Linked DNA regions of Homo sapiens: region 1 is linked to region 2. The links are contacts of gene promoters, found by promoter capture Hi-C in human tissues and cell types (Jung and others, 2019). All regions are on one chromosome and are shown on one strand. Each heading gives the region's core, a stretch centred on a gene start or on the middle of the fragment in contact. The rest is flanking DNA. Distances are from core to core; before and after follow the strand shown. Region 1 overlaps ENTPD1-AS1 (ENTPD1 antisense RNA 1). Region 2 holds the start of SORBS1 (sorbin and SH3 domain containing 1).

Region 1 (2,859 bases), core at 106-2,605, 330 kb before region 2:
CTGCCTCAGCCTCCTGAGTAGCTGGAACTACAGGTGCCCGCCACCACGCCCGGCTAATTTTTTGTATGTATTTTTAGTAGAGACAAGGTTTCACTGTGTTAGCCAGGATGGTCTCGATCTTCTGACCTCGTTATCCGCCCGCCTCAGCCTCCCAAAGTGCTGAGATTGCAGGCGTGAGCCACCGCACCCGGCCTATAATACTACATTTTAAATCACTAAAAATTCAAGATGGATAATGACTGAGTCTCATGTCTCCTATAATATAGTAGTAAGACAGTTAAATTCTTTCAAGACTTCAGTTTTTGACCTCCACAAAGACAGCAATTAGAAATTGATTTTCTGAGGTCCCCTTTGGCTCCAAAATGCAATGATTAAAGTTTTCATTGACCCTGCTTACTGCCTTTATAGAAATAATTCCCAATATGTGGAAAGGGAATGCAGAGAATCTTAAATGGGACATAATCACTACAGTTGTTTGTATTTGGAGTATATAGAATTAGAGCCAATGACAACAAGGTGGATTTTTTTTTTATTGTTTAGTTTAATACTTTTACAACCTTAATTTTAAGGGATAAGAGACCATTTTCAGCTTAGGTGTTGATAGTGCTAGAGTTTCAAAGTGTGGAATATGTGATAAAGGATTTTTATGTAAAATTAGACATAGTATTAAAACCAGAGCTAGACAGTAAAGAAAGCAGTAAAAAATAGATTTTACTCAGGAACTATTGGAATAAAGTAAGGGACTTGAGTATAGAACTGTGCTCAGTTCTGAAAAGAAGAAGAATAAGGGGGGATTCATACCAAGGAACAGAGTGGGGTCGGTGGATGGAAAATTCCTAGGAGGAAACATCAAGGTAAGAGGTAATTCTGGTTAAACAGACCTAACAGGATTCTTGCTGAAGGCAGGCCAGGATGATCAGACAACACCTCGGGGGCAATGGAGGATGAGGAATTTGATCAGATATTGAAGGAGGTCAGATATGAGGATGGGATTCTTACAAAACTGACTTAACAGGATTCTTGCTCTTGAGGACAAGGCCCAAGTACCGGGCCTAGTAGAGAATGGGCTCAAAGGAACCTGACTAAATTTTGCTTAAGGAGAGTCTTTGTCAGTAGTCATCATACTTAAATTGTTTATTTTTGCCAAGTACCTCTTACCAAAGCTTTATAAGCATTTAATTGTGCTTCTCATTATGAGAACAGATAAAAGAAAAGGCTATTAAAAGAAAAGGAATTGTTATTAGCCAATTCATAAAGTAGGAGAGAGTTGTTAGACCCAAGATTTCAGAGTAAGAAAAAAAAAATGACGCCACTGGGACTTCTGCTTTCAGATAAGAGGAAGTAACAGGGACCAGATTAACCCTCCCACCTGAAACAACAAAAAAAAAAGTGAAGAAAATATATGAAACAACAATTTCCAAGAAGTTGGATATCAGGCAATGAAGGACAGTGATCTCTGAGAAATGTTCCAGCTTGCTGCCTTGAGAGAGTTTCCAGGTCATGGTGCAGAAAGTGGGAATCATGATGGAGCAAGTCACTGCCAAGTTAAGGGGACAGAACTGAGACGCCTGGGAAACCAAGGCAGCTAGCACTGGACAAGAGAGTACTGCCCAGGGAGAGTATTCTAGGGTACTCTTTACCAACCCTCAGATACTTTCCTGGAATGCAGAAGGTTTCCCTGCATTTCAGGAAAGTACCTGAGGCTGGAGAAAGAGCTACTCTAGAAGATTAGAAGGAACAGTACTTGGAGCTCACTTAGGGCTGGCAATAGGGACTTTTCCCACCAGCCATTATGAGGTTATGGAAAACCTCATAATTCACAGGATACTGGGTAGCATTCAGAAGAGCCTTGTCTCAATAGTGGGAAATAATGAGCCCTAGACTAAACACTACTCTGATCTATGGAAAACCTCATAATAGTAAGGAATAATGAGCTCTAGACTAAACACTACTCTGATCTATGGAAAACCTCATAATTCACAGGATGCTGGGTAGAGTTCAGAAGGGCCTTGTCTCAATAGTGGGGAATGAACTCTAGACTAAACACTACTCTGATCTTACCTAATAAGTCTTAACAGCGAGACCTGAAAGGATCAAACTGTTTCCAAGTAACTGCTTCCTGAAACAAAGCTTAAGAGTATTTGTAGGAATCCAAAAAAGATACAGTCCTATGAGTTTGGGTTACTTTTCTCCTTCTAATTTTTCTGTTTCTGTTCTGAAAATGTGGGAGGTTGCATGGGATAATGAAAAAAGTATTAGATTAGAAATCAGGAGAGCTGAGTTTTTGTCTAGTTCTGCTACCGACTTACCATGTGACCATGGTCAAGGTTTTCTTTTTTCTTGTCACAAGTGACCCCAGTACATGGAGGGATTTGGATCAAACAAATTCTGAAAAATTCTTAAACTCTAAAATGAAATTGTCTTCAGGCCTTCTATATTTGCTCAAAAGAATCAGGAACACTAAAATGCAGAAAAGATTACTTGATTCTACTTAGTTTTACTAATTGTTTTATCAAGCATAAGGGATTCTAATTTGTTACAAAAATTTAAATCATTTAAAATCAATTTGTGAATTTCTCTTAAAGTTAGTCATTTACTGGATAAACCAAATTATATATGATGTTTATTCATTTTAATATTTTTTATTTCAATAGTTTTTGGGGAACAGGTGATGTTTGCTTACGTGCAGAAGTTCTTTAGTGGTGATTTCTGAGATATTGGTGCACCCATCACCCAAGCAGTGTACACTGTACCCAATGTATACTCTTTTATCCCTCATCCCCTCTCCCAGCCTTTCCCCCAAGTCCCCAAAGTTCATTGTATCATTCTTATGCCTTTGTGTCCTCATAGCTTAGCTCC
Region 2 (2,700 bases), core at 137-2,636:
AGGACACCAGGTGGTCACCAAAGACTTGTCACCGTTCCCTGACATCTAAGAATCTTTGCTGATGAGTTTCCGATCAGTCTGTGCAGTTATCAAGGCCAGTCTTTACCCTGCCACCCACAGCCTGTTCACTGAGAATGTGCTCTGGCTGAAGATGCTTGCAAGGGCAGCTGACAAAAATCAGTTGTGCTCAGCCCAAAGGGCGAGTGTCTTATCTTCAGGGATGTGGGAAGCTGGGCATGGAGGGAGCAAGTTCCAGACCAGTACTTGCTGGCTCTGCGACCTTGGGCCAGCAGATTCCCCACTCTGATCCCTGTCTCTGTTTCCTTTTCTGTAACTCTGAGGGGGACTAGAGGAGGTCAGGAGAATGGCATAGCACAGTGGTTAGCTCTGAACCCCATCTAACACGGTGCCTTCCCCCCACTTGCAATGACCTTGTTGCATTGTATGCACTCTACTTTTCACATTGTAGAGGATCTTATTTATTTACTTGTCTCCACTAAAATGGAAGCTTCCTAAGGGAAAAGGCCTTGCCTGTCTTGTTCTCTGCAGTTAACACTGGGGTCCAGCACTGCCACAGAGCCTCTAAATATATGTGTGTTGCATGAGTGAAATCTCAGAGCCTGGGTTCAAATCCTGGTTGCACCACTTGCTGTGTGACCTCGGACAAGCCACTTAAACTACACCTCAGTTTTCCTGCATAAAAATAGTAATTATTTTCAGTTTTCTCACTAGAAAAATATGGATTAGTAATCGTTCCTCTCTTATCAGGCTAAGAGGATCAAATGAGGAAATATCCGGGAAGCATTAAGCACACTGGCTGGTACAGAGCACACGAATGACAACAGCAAACGTTTATGTAGCACGACGGCCAGGAACTGATCAAAATGCATCACCTATGTTAACTATGTTAATCTTCACTAGATTTTACGAAGTCGGACTATTATGCCATTTTACAGATGGGTAAACTGAGGCCCAGGAGTTAAATAACTTATCACTGTTATTTTACGTCTAAGGTTCCTTCCAAGCTCCCCGTGGGCGACCCTTCCGAAGGACCAGAAGGCGCGCCAGGCCAGCGTCCGGCCCGGCCAGGACGGAAAGGGTTACTAGGCCCGCGCGCCCGTTACCGGCGGAGGCCGGCGGGCTCACAATGCCAGGAGCCGGGCGCCGGACACTTCTTCGCCTCCCATCCGCGCACACGCCCCTTCCTGTCACGGCTGGGCCCGGCCCCGCCCCCGGCACCGCCCGCTGGCCGGGCGCTGCCAGAGTGGACGGTTCCAGAGGCATGCTAATGAGGGGGCGGGCACCGCAGCCCATTGGTTGTCCGCGGAGTGTCGGTGAAGTCAGCGCTGAGTCCCAGAAAAACAGAGCGGGGCCAGCTGCAGCGTGTAGTGCGAGTGGGGCGGACGCGCGCAGCCCGCCCGCCCGGCGACCAGCAAGGTAAGCCCGCGCTCGCCCGCCCGGCCGCGCTTGCCCGCTCGGCGGCGGCAGCGCCGGGGGTGTGCGCGGCTCGGCCCCCGCGGGCGGCGCCTTTGTTCCGCGCTCGGAGGAGGCGCATTTAAAGGGCCAGCTGTTGGAGGGACTTGGGGGACCCCCTCCCCCAGAGCATCCCCCCATGGGCACAGGGAAAGCGGTGGTCCCTCGCGGCCGAACCGTCCATCCTGCCTGCTCGGCGAATCCCCAGTCTTTCAAGGAAAGTTCCCCAGGGTGCGGAGGATCTGGGGGCTTCCAGGGTTGGGGGTTTTTAAATTTCCTTTTTTGGTGGGTGTGGGGTAGTACGATCATGGCCTCTGCTAGGAGAGAATGTCCGCCCGTCTCAGGGTGGCTGCAATTTGGGTGGGTGGAGGAGACATCAAAGCCCGAATGGGTTTGTGCTGTAAAGTGAAACTACCGAGGAGGGGCACCTCTGCAGCAGCCAGAGGAAGGCGGAGGGAGCGAGCGGCGGGATGGAGGCATCTCAGGTGTGTTCATTCATCAGCATCCCCTGGAGAGGGCGGCGGGAGGGGCGCAAGGACGACGCGGTTGGCCGGACCCGCCTGAATGAACGGGGACTAGTATGCGCCGGGGACACGGCGCCTGCCCGTGCCGCCCGTGCCCCTTCTTCTCCCCGAGTGGCTGACAGCATCTTGCTAGGCAGCTCATCACCGACATGGACAGCAAGCAACTCCTTTCTCCGAATTCCCCGGGCATCCCCTGCTACCACCTCGCTGCTTTCCGATGTGGCTTCCTTGATACGTGGTAGCGCCATTCAAGATAGAGGGGAAAGAGGCTTGAAGTCATTATGTTTCCTTCATGGGGGAATGTGCTGTCGAATTCTGCATCCCCATGCATCCGCTGTCGTAAGATGGCTTTGAAATTCACCAGTGCATGCTTTCTCCAGGCAGACAAGAATTTATTACGCTATTACATTGCTACGTAAAAGCAGAAGGGATCCCACTGAGCATGGCTCGTTTTGTTCAGTCCTCGGTTTTTCCCAGCATGTTCTGGGCGAGCCTTTGGATTTTTGTTTTAAACACTGAGCGTTGGGATGCCCCTGTTGTCACAGGGCCGACCTGCTGAAATTGCTGGAATTGGTTTCATCGTCAATAGGAGGGAGGTTCATCTAGAGACATCATGGAACCTATCTGGCGTGTCAGGCCTCTGACTCCATCTCTCCCCTCAACACCCCCCCCCCCGCCCAGCCCCCCGCGCCCTTTTTTCCTC

What was found. Contacts are between HindIII fragments. The study calls those that stand out against the background at their distance.
Region 1: a contact is called between a fragment that was not itself captured here and the fragment with the promoter of SORBS1 in region 2, in 1 of the 25 tissues and cell types used here (IMR-90 fibroblasts).

What each region holds. Positions count from the first base shown.
Region 1 is chr10:95,894,732-95,897,590 of GRCh38, reverse strand. All of the region lies in intron 2 of ENTPD1-AS1 (ENTPD1 antisense RNA 1), which reads left to right. Among named protein-coding and RNA genes, the nearest start is that of CC2D2B, 12 kb to the left of the region's middle. RefSeq lists a silencer at 1,212-1,412. The HindIII fragment of the contact is 3,110 bases long and covers 1-2,859 here.
Region 2 is chr10:95,560,057-95,562,756 of GRCh38, reverse strand. It overlaps SORBS1 (sorbin and SH3 domain containing 1), which reads left to right and starts at 1,386. Exons shown (of 33, transcript NM_001034954.3): 1 at 1,386-1,437. RefSeq lists silencers at 1,037-1,406, 1,447-1,556 and an enhancer at 1,041-1,803. The HindIII fragment of the contact is 4,090 bases long and covers 232-2,700 here.